Linked DNA regions of Homo sapiens: region 2 is linked to region 1. Evidence: promoter capture Hi-C in human tissues and cell types (Jung and others, 2019). All regions are on one chromosome and are shown on one strand. Each heading gives the region's core, a stretch centred on a gene start or on the middle of the fragment in contact. The rest is flanking DNA. Distances are from core to core; before and after follow the strand shown.

The links. Contacts are between HindIII fragments. The study calls those that stand out against the background at their distance.
Region 2: a contact is called between a fragment that was not itself captured here and the fragment with the promoter of DNASE1L2 in region 1, in 1 of the 25 tissues and cell types used here (spleen).

What each region holds. Positions count from the first base shown.
Region 1 is chr16:2,233,979-2,238,782 of GRCh38, reverse strand. It overlaps DNASE1L2 (deoxyribonuclease 1 like 2), which reads right to left and starts at 2,339. Exons shown (of 7, transcript NM_001374.3): 1 at 2,223-2,339; 2 at 1,823-2,005; 3 at 1,657-1,745; 4 at 1,482-1,565; 5 at 1,134-1,407; 6 at 765-1,016; 7 at 72-421. The coding sequence starts at 1,966. The coding sequence ends at 365. It overlaps E4F1 (E4F transcription factor 1), which reads right to left. Exons shown (of 14, transcript NM_004424.5): 9 at 4,793-4,804; 10 at 4,395-4,612; 11 at 4,002-4,200; 12 at 3,782-3,924; 13 at 3,640-3,702; 14 at 3,041-3,567. The coding sequence ends at 3,211. The HindIII fragment of the contact is 25,906 bases long and covers 1-4,804 here.
Region 2 is chr16:2,275,715-2,280,518 of GRCh38, reverse strand. It overlaps ABCA3 (ATP binding cassette subfamily A member 3), which reads left to right. Exons shown (of 33, transcript NM_001089.3): 29 at 1,389-1,576; 30 at 2,061-2,231; 31 at 2,450-2,640; 32 at 2,849-2,922; 33 at 3,714-4,638. The coding sequence ends at 3,845. Among named protein-coding and RNA genes, the nearest start is that of MIR4717, 3.5 kb to the right of the region's middle. The HindIII fragment of the contact is 5,249 bases long and covers 225-4,804 here.

The sequences.
Region 1 (4,804 bases), core at 1,090-3,589:
GCCCAGGCCATGGCTGCCCCTAAGGAGCTGAGGCTGGGTCCTAAGGAAGGACAGAGGCCTGGGAGCCAAGCTGTGGGGCCCGACCGGGAGCAGCTCATTTATTGAGCAGACATCTGCCGGGCAGTGCCCCCTGCACCCCTCATGGGGCTCACAACACCCCATGAGGTCGCTGGATGCAGCCCGTCCCACAGATGGGGAACGGAGGTACAGAGCAGCACATCACGTGTCCATGGCCCCTGGTCCACGCCCAGCCGACTCTGCCTTGGGGCCTCACTGAAGGGTGGCTGCCACCCTGAAGGGGCCACTGTTGGGCCATTCCTCAGAGCCAGGGTCTGCAGGTGGCATGCCCCAGCCAGGCCTCGAGTCATCGGTGGAACTTGAGGGTCACCTCCACTGGAAAGTGGTCGCTGATGGCAAGAGCCTGTGGGGACAGAGTGAGCCTCAGGGGAAAAGTGCACCCCACCCACAGGGATGGGAGGGGCCGGTGAGGCCTGGGTGCCCACCCCTGCTGCTGCCTGCGGTGGGGCAGGGGCAGGGGCCGGGGCAGAGGGTGTCACCACTGGCCCTTTGAGGGAAAGGCAAGGTACCCTGCCTGCCCAGAGCTCCACATGGGGTGGGCCGGGCTCTCCAGGGTCCTTGGAAACGAGCCCTGGTGCAGGGAGGAAGCTGAGGTGGCCCTGCCTTGGGCGCTGGACCCTCCCTGCTGCCTGCGTGCGCCCGGGCGGTGGGGACCCAAGACCAGCACCGCCCCACGGCCCACTCGCCTGAGTCTGGTCCAGGCCGAATTCCTCCTGGAAGTCGTGCACGGTGGCCGACTGGGGCTTCAGGCTCCGGCGCAGGCGGGCGCCACAGGCCACAATGCGGTCGTAGGCGCAGTCTGAGTTGCCCACCGTGGTGTCGGCGCTGTCAGGGATGAGCCACTTGAAGACCTCACTGCTCCTCAGACGGATGGCGGCCCAGTCCTGCGCCCGCACATAGCTGCAGTCGGCGTTGAAGTCGCCCAGGAACAGCATGTCCTGCGGGCGCCGCGGAGCCGTGTCTGAGCCGCCGCAGGAGCCGTCGAGGTCCCGCCCTCATGAACCAGACCCCCGGGGCGCGCCTGCAGGGACCCCGGGACCGAGGGGTGGGCTTACGTCGGTGCCCCACTTGTCGATCACGTCCAGGTACACGTCGTAGAGCGCGTCGATCTCCGCCACGGCTTGATGCGGCGCCGCGTGCAGCGGGATCAGCACCAGGTTCTGTGCTGCTGCGGGAAGGGGTGGGGGCGTCAGAGCTCGGCGGGAGGGGAGGGGCGGGGCCCGCTCACCGGTGCCGGGGGCCGAGAACTTGACCACGAAGGGCTCGCGGCTGAAGACGTCCTCGGGGTCTGGGTACAGGTAGGTGTCCACGACCGACACCGCGTCTTTCCTAGGAGATGGGGAGGACCCGCTGAGCCCCCGACCTGCGGCCCCGCGCGCCCCTCCCTGCGGCCCGCCCCTCACCTGTACACGAACAGGTACATCTCCTTGTACTGGTCCCGGCCCAGGGGCTGGCTGCTCACAAAGCTGTACTCGTGCTCGGACACGCTGCGGAGACAGGGGCCCGCTCAGGGTCGGGGCGCCGCGCCGGGGCGAGATCCCGGCGGGGGGTCGCGACGAGGGGCCCTGCCCACCACACCTGTTGATCTGCTCCATGAGCGCGGACACGGCGCTGAGGTCTGGGTCTCGCACCTCCTGCACCAGCGCGAGGTCATAGCCAGCCAGGATCTGGGGAGGAGCGGCGGGTGCGGGGGTCAGCGCGGTCAGCACCCCTAAACGCCGCCCCGCCCCGGCCCGGGCCCCACCTTCGCGATGATGCTGCCGCAAGCGGGGTCCGACACTTTGCTGTCACCGAAGCTCTGAATGTTGAAGGCTCCGATGCGAAGCGCGGCGGTCCCGGCGGCTTCCAGCGCCCAGAGTGCGGCCAGCAGAGCCCGGGGCCCGCCCATGGCGCGGAGCGAGAGGCTGGGAGGGACAGACGCTGCCGCCTACGCAGACCCGCTGTCAGACCCACCGACCCACCCCTTCCCTCCGCGGCCGCCCCTTGACGGCCAGTGCGACGCGGAATCCGCCCCTGCGTTCTGCAGGCTCCCAGGGCACTGCTGGGCTCTCAGGGACCGCTGCCTTCTCACTGCGCGGGAAGCTGCAGCCGGAATGGAGGGTCCGGCCCATCCAGCCCCAGCTCAGGGCAGCCGAGAGACTCACCTTGGATGTGGGTGCAGAGGCCCGAGGCTCAGAGATCCTAGGGGGATGGGGATCCCGGGTCCAGGCTGCGGGCGTGTCCGACACAGGACTGCACTGACTCCCTCTGGCAGTAGCTCTGGCACCAAGGCAGGGGCCGGTATTTGAGGTCCTGGGCCAGGGAGGGGCCGGGCTGCACTGGGTCCCGCCCCCTCGACTCAGCTGGGTGCCTGATGAACTCCTGGCTTTCATTCCCATGGAGACCCCCAGGGTAAGGGGTGGGAGACCTGCCTGAGCCGGTTCTGGTGCCCCAGACCTGTCCCAAAACCGTCCCAGAAGCCCCTGCCAGCCCCCTAGGAGGGAGGTAGACGGTCAGCCACATCCCGGTGCGGCTGTGTTCTTGTCCTCGCCCCTAGAAATTAGGTCGCCTAGACTCTGCCTCCCTGAGCAGAATCCCTTCAGGGAAAGCAAGGCAGCGCAGGTAGGACCAGCCACACTCCCTACCCAGCATCTCCTGCTGCTGCTCCACCTGCTCACCCTGCGGTGGAGGCCGAGGCTCCCAGATCTCCCTGTCCCCGTCCCTGGTCCTCCCACCCACCCACAGGCCTCAGGCAGCGCAGCTGGGGGCACAGCTCCAGCTGGGCAGGGCAGGAGGCTGTTGGTCAACATGCCAATGACACCCACACAGCACCAAGGCGCCGCCAGGGCTGGCAGAAGCCCCTGGGTGGGGCGGCCAGGCACGTGAGTCTAGGAGTGGCCTGGGAGGCAGGTGCTGCTGCGGGGGCCTGGGCAAAGGTGGTGGCACCAGCCGCGGAGGCTGCCACTGCCACAACATCACAAGCTGCAGGTTCTCATGTTTTATTGTAAAGCAACAAGAAACTCTTATGTACACTGTCCGTCTTGGGGCGCCTCCATCCTGTGCCATCTTCTCTACCAGGCCAGGCAGGCATGGGTGGGGCGCTCAGAGTCCTCTGCCCTGTCCCTGCCCGGCCAGGACCCCGCAGACCTCATGCTAGACGATGACCGTCTGCACCTCCAGCTGGCCCTCCGGCGAGGCGATGACCAGCTCGCCTGCATGCTCCAGGATCTCGATGTCCTCTGATGACACCATGGTCACAGTGGCCTGTTCAGTGCCACTTGTCCCTGCCCGGGCGGCAAGCACAGTGCCCTCGCTGATGGCCGAGGCCAGCGTCATGGCCACCTGCTCTGTCAGGCTCTCGGGGGTGGCGATGGTGATGGTGTCGGCGGCAGCCGCCTCTGGGCCCAGCGCCGTCTCCTCGTCCATGGTGACGTTCTGCACGATGATCTGGTGGCCGGCGCTAGCCTGGTGCACGATCTGCTGCACCACCTTCATGATGTGGCTGTCCACCTGCAGGGCCACGGCTCAGCAAGAGCGGCTGTGCCAGGGAGCCTCCCCGCCCCCGCCTGCCCTACCCCTCACCTCTGTCTGGGTGCCCTCGATGATCTCCGTGGCCTCACTGGTCTCCGCATCGTCCGCAGTGGCCTGGGCAGATGGGCAGAAGGACAGAGGTCAGCCTTGGCTGCCCCTGGGTCCCAGCACGGCCCCAGGGCCCCACACCCACCTCGATGATATACTCCTGGGTGTCAGCTACCACGGACGAGAACTCCACCAACACTGTGTGCGGGTCTTCCGTGAGGACGGTGGTGGCTGCCGCGGGGCTGTCCTCAGACACCAGCAACTCCTCCACCTCCAGCAGGCAGCCCCCTGTGGGTGGGGACTCGGTCAGGGCTAGGCAAGCCCCGGCCCCCTCCCCTCCCCCTCCCACCTCCACCGGCCCAGACCTTTGGTGCGCAGGTGCCGGTTCAGCGTGCCGTGCTCGGCGAAGCCACGGCCGCACTTGTAGCACTTGAACGGCTTCTCGCCTGTGTGGTGTCGCACGTGCCGCACCAGTGAGCCCTTCTCTCGGAAGCCACGGCTGCAGAACTGGCACACGTGCGGCTTCTCCTCCAGGTGTGTCCTGAAGTGCACCTGCTGTGCGTTCTGTGGAGACACCTGTCAGTGCCAGCCTGGCCTTGGCCACAACAGACTACAGCTCTCCCCTCCCGCCTGTGGCCCAAGGGAGGGGCTGGGTCAAGACTGAGCATGGTGGAGGCAGGGAAGGGGGTGCACCTGGGCCACGGCCAGGGAGCAGGATGGGGGGATCAGGCGCCAGGGTCCTGCGGCCAGAGACCCACCTTAGTCTTGTAGCGCTTGCCACACTTGGGACAAGGGTAGGGCCGCTCGTCTGAGTGGACGCGCCGGTGGCCACGCACATGGGCAATGGTCTTGTAGAGCTTCCCGCAGTCGCCACAGCGGAAGCGGCGCTCACGCACGTGCACCTCCTGGTGCTTCTTGAGCAGGTAGGCCTTGGGGAAGGCCTTGCCACACTGCGCGCAGGCGAACGGCCTCGGCCCTGCAGCCACACACAGCATCAGGCCAAGCCCATCACCCGCGGGCCCGCCAGGCCGCCTGCCACCTGCCCACAGATCCCCTGGCTCCCTGCTGTCTATGGACCCACCCTGGACACCCAGAAGCACCCCGGCCACCTATAGCCCATCCACTGCCATGGGCCACACACCCACCCATCACCTACCGGTGTGGCCCC
Region 2 (4,804 bases), core at 1,600-4,099, 41 kb before region 1:
GAGTCCTCTCCTGAGCTCACACCAGGGGTGCCTGGACAGCAGAGGCCCTGGGCCAGAGCACATGCAGGCCCTCTCGGGAGGAAAGCCTCATCCTAGGCTGCAGACTCCCCCATAGAGGGTTCCAGGGCTTACAGGCAATGCACAGCAAACAAACAGAGGAGATGGTACCATGGCTGGAAGCAATAGACACAGGCCCCATGGGGGGACAAGCACATAGGCGTTAGATCTGCATCATCAGGCCAGATTATAAAAGATTATAAACTCACTGTGTCTACAGAAATAAATTATGCAATTGAAAATCTATGCAGGGGAGAGAAAACCGTATGTGATCTAGCAATGGAGGAGAGGGTGAGAAGTCCCCAGTACATGTAATCTGAGTTCCAGAAGGAAGAGAGAGAGAGAGTGGCAGGGGGTAGTAGCCAAAAAGGTAGTGGCTAAGACTTTCCCCAAACTGATTAAAAACAGATTCTGGGCTGGGAGCGTGGCTCACGCCTATAATCCCAGCTTTGGAAGGCCAAGGCAGGCAGATCACTTGAGGTCTAGAGTTCGAGACCAGCCTGGCCAACATGGCAAAATGCTGTCTCTACCAAAGAAAAATACAAAAATTAGCAGGGCATGGTGGCAGGTGCCTATAATCCTAGCTACTCGGGAGCCTGAGGCATGAGAATCACTTGAGCCTGGGAGGCAGAGGTTGTAGTGAGCCGAGATCATGCCACTGCGCTCTACCAGTGTAAGGGAGACAGAGTAAGACTCTGTCTCAAAAAAAAAAAAAAAAATTCTGGAAGCTTGAGAACCCCAAAGAAGGAAGGTAAAGAAAAAGAAATCCAGTCTCTGGAATCCACAGAACCCAGGCACTCCTGCCCCCGACCAGCTGCTGAAGGTAGCTAAGCAGATGGCAGCAGGCACGTCTTAATTCAGCTGGACGTGGTCACTTGTGCAGAGAACAGCTGCTGCACCATCTGACCAAGCAGTACTCACCCCAAACGTGGTGCCCACAAATCTTTCTTCTTAGAGGGAGAAGAAAGAGTCCTAGCACATCAGATGTCCCAGGTGTGAATGAGTGGGTAGCCAGCTCTGAGTCTGCTTCTACGTAAAGGCCATTCTTGCACCACCTAACCCCATGGCTGCCTGTCCTGGACCAGGCTCTGAGAGCAGCTCTGGAAGCCTCCCTGCACCAGGCACATCCTTCCTGTGTCCCTGTTCCAAGAGCTTCCACTGTGGGCAGCCACCACGGCCTGTGCATAGCTCCAGCGCCCCCGTGTACACACACTGGCAGGAACCACAGACAGGCGCAGTGGTGGGCACCTCAAGGGTAGTCCCCGTGGTCCTCTGGAGGAAGGAGGCTTCCCTCCAACCCGCCTCCCTCCCCGGCTATGCTCCGACCCCAGGTGCGGCAGCGGATCGGCTACTGCCCGCAGTTTGATGCCTTGCTGGACCACATGACAGGCCGGGAGATGCTGGTCATGTACGCTCGGCTCCGGGGCATCCCTGAGCGCCACATCGGGGCCTGCGTGGAGAACACTCTGCGGGGCCTGCTGCTGGAGCCACATGCCAACAAGCTGGTCAGGACGTACAGGTGCACCTCCCGAGCCCTGGCCCTTCCCAGAGTGGAGTCAGAATCAAGGTCCCCATAGCATAGAGCTGGGAGTGACCGCTCAGGTCAGCAGCCAGAGCTCCTGCTTGTGGCTCCAGGATGGAGCTGGGATGTGGTGGTGTGACCCAGGTAGCTCCACGTAGGAAAGGGACTGCCCTGACAGTGCCTGCCACCTAGGGACAAAGCCAGCAGTGAGAGATGTCAGGGTCGGCAGGTCCCCTTTAGGTGCAGGCAGATGTCTTCCCATGTAGGTGCGTGCACCGGGCCCCTGGGAACAGCCTTCTCTGGGGCCTCCAGCCCTATGCGGTGGGCTTTCCAGGTGCACACACAGCTCCTTCCTCTTCACTAGGGCTGTTCTGCAATTGCTGGGTGTGGGCCGCTGCTGGGACACGGGCCTCCACTGGGACATGGGAGCCAATGCTAACTCTCAGCCTTATTCCCCCACCTGGCACCCTCCTGCCTCTAGTGGTGGTAACAAGCGGAAGCTGAGCACCGGCATCGCCCTGATCGGAGAGCCTGCTGTCATCTTCCTGGACGAGCCGTCCACTGGCATGGACCCCGTGGCCCGGCGCCTGCTTTGGGACACCGTGGCACGAGCCCGAGAGTCTGGCAAGGCCATCATCATCACCTCCCACAGGTAGAGCCTGGGTCTGTGGGTTACTGGAAGTTTCAGCACCGGGTGGGCCATGGAGGAGCCAGGTGGCCAGGAGACCCATCAGCATCTGGTGCAGAGTCTGCCCGTGAGCCACACTGAGCATGGGTATCAGGAACAGCCTGATCGGAGAGCCAATGCCTTCCTGTCTGCACAAGCCTTTGGCACCCCAAGCCCTATCTGAGGTCCCGCCCTCTCCACAGCATGGAGGAGTGTGAGGCCCTGTGCACCCGGCTGGCCATCATGGTGCAGGGGCAGTTCAAGTGCCTGGGCAGCCCCCAGCACCTCAAGAGCAAGTTCGGCAGCGGCTACTCCCTGCGGGCCAAGGTGCAGAGTGAAGGGCAACAGGAGGCGCTGGAGGAGTTCAAGGCCTTCGTGGACCTGACCTTTCCAGGTGTGTGCCGGCCCCGGCAGCCCCCACTGGGTGGGCCCTGGGCCCCTACCTAGGCCTCTCCCATCTGCTGTGCGGAGCGTCTGTGCCTCGCCCCGCCAAGTCCCATCTCCCCAATCCCTGGGACGAGGACTCCAGTGCTGAGCACCCAGGCACCCTCCCCGATCCTCCAGCCCGGCGCTCACAGCAACACCGTCTCTCCTTTGTGCAGGCAGCGTCCTGGAAGATGAGCACCAAGGCATGGTCCATTACCACCTGCCGGGCCGTGACCTCAGCTGGGCGAAGGTGAGGCAGTCCCTGGGGCCCCACTGGGCACTCATGGGGCAGGGGGAGGTCCCTCCAGGGGTCTCTCCCTCTGTGGTGACTGCAGGCTCTTTCCACAGAGGAGTCACTTTCCATTTCTCCCCTAACACTCAGCCTGATACGTGCTGGTTTGGGGGTTTTATATCCAAAATTATCAGTGGTAAAAGGAATTCAGTGTAAAACAGGAAAGGGGTCAGGGATGGTGGCTCACACCATAATCCCAGCACTTTGGGAGGCCGAGGAGGGAGGATTGCTTAAGCCTGGGAGTTCTAGACCAGCCTGGGCAACATAGACCCCGTCTCTACAAAAAATTTAAAAATTAGCCAGGTATCATGCATACCTGTAGTCCCAGCCACTCGGGAGGCTAAGGTGGGAGGATCGCTTGAGCCTGGGAGTTCGAGACTGCAGTGAGCTATGATTGTGCCACTGCACTCCAGCCTGGGCTACAGAGCAAGACTCTCTCTAAAAAAATATGGGGGAAAAAAAGAACTGGCTCAGAAAGGGAACATCACTGGCTCAAGGTTGTAATCTGAGCTGGGAACAGCACAGGGAGGAGGCTGGGCCCCATCCCCGCTGGCTCCTGCTTAGCCAGCGTCCTCTACCTGGGAGCACGGTGCCGTCGCAGGGCTGACCTCTCTGGGGCTCTGGGGTGGCGCTGGGCAGGGGTAGGATTGTGGGGGCCTCATCAGCCCCTATTGCCAGAGGACTCCCAGGTCCCGCAGAGGAGCCTGGGCCCTGTTCTCTCCTACCAGTGACTTTTCTGCTCCCCAAAGGTTTTCGGTATTCTGGAGAAAGCCAAGGAAAAGTACGGCGTGGACGACTACTCCGTGAGCCAGATCTCGCTGGAACAGGTCTTCCTGAGCTTCGCCCACCTGCAGCCGCCCACCGCAGAGGAGGGGCGATGAGGGGTGGCGGCTGTCTCGCCATCAGGCAGGGACAGGACGGGCAAGCAGGGCCCATCTTACATCCTCTCTCTCCAAGTTTATCTCATCCTTTATTTTTAATCACTTTTTTCTATGATGGATATGAAAAATTCAAGGCAGTATGCACAGAATGGACGAGTGCAGCCCAGCCCTCATGCCCAGGATCAGCATGCGCATCTCCATGTCTGCATACTCTGGAGTTCACTTTCCCAGAGCTGGGGCAGGCCGGGCAGTCTGCGGGCAAGCTCCGGGGTCTCTGGGTGGAGAGCTGACCCAGGAAGGGCTGCAGCTGAGCTGGGGGTTGAATTTCTCCAGGCACTCCCTGGAGAGAGGACCCAGTGACTTGTCCAAGTTTACACACGACACTAATCTCCCCTGGGGAGGAAGCGGGAAGCCAGCCAGGTTGAACTGTAGCGAGGCCCCCAGGCCGCCAGGAATGGACCATGCAGATCACTGTCAGTGGAGGGAAGCTGCTGACTGTGATTAGGTGCTGGGGTCTTAGCGTCCAGCGCAGCCCGGGGGCATCCTGGAGGCTCTGCTCCTTAGGGCATGGTAGTCACCGCGAAGCCGGGCACCGTCCCACAGCATCTCCTAGAAGCAGCCGGCACAGGAGGGAAGGTGGCCAGGCTCGAAGCAGTCTCTGTTTCCAGCACTGCACCCTCAGGAAGTCGCCCGCCCCAGGACACGCAGGGACCACCCTAAGGGCTGGGTGGCTGTCTCAAGGACACATTGAATACGTTGTGACCATCCAGAAAATAAATGCTGAGGGGACACAGTCACAGTCTGTGGGTCACACGCGCGAGCGGTCACAGGGCTCAATCACTCGCCCACAATCTAGACATGAGGCTCTCCTTTCACATTTCAATCACACAAACGTGGGACGTTGCTTTTCCCAGAAGGGAGCACACGCAGAGAATACACTGAGGTGAAGGAACAGGCCC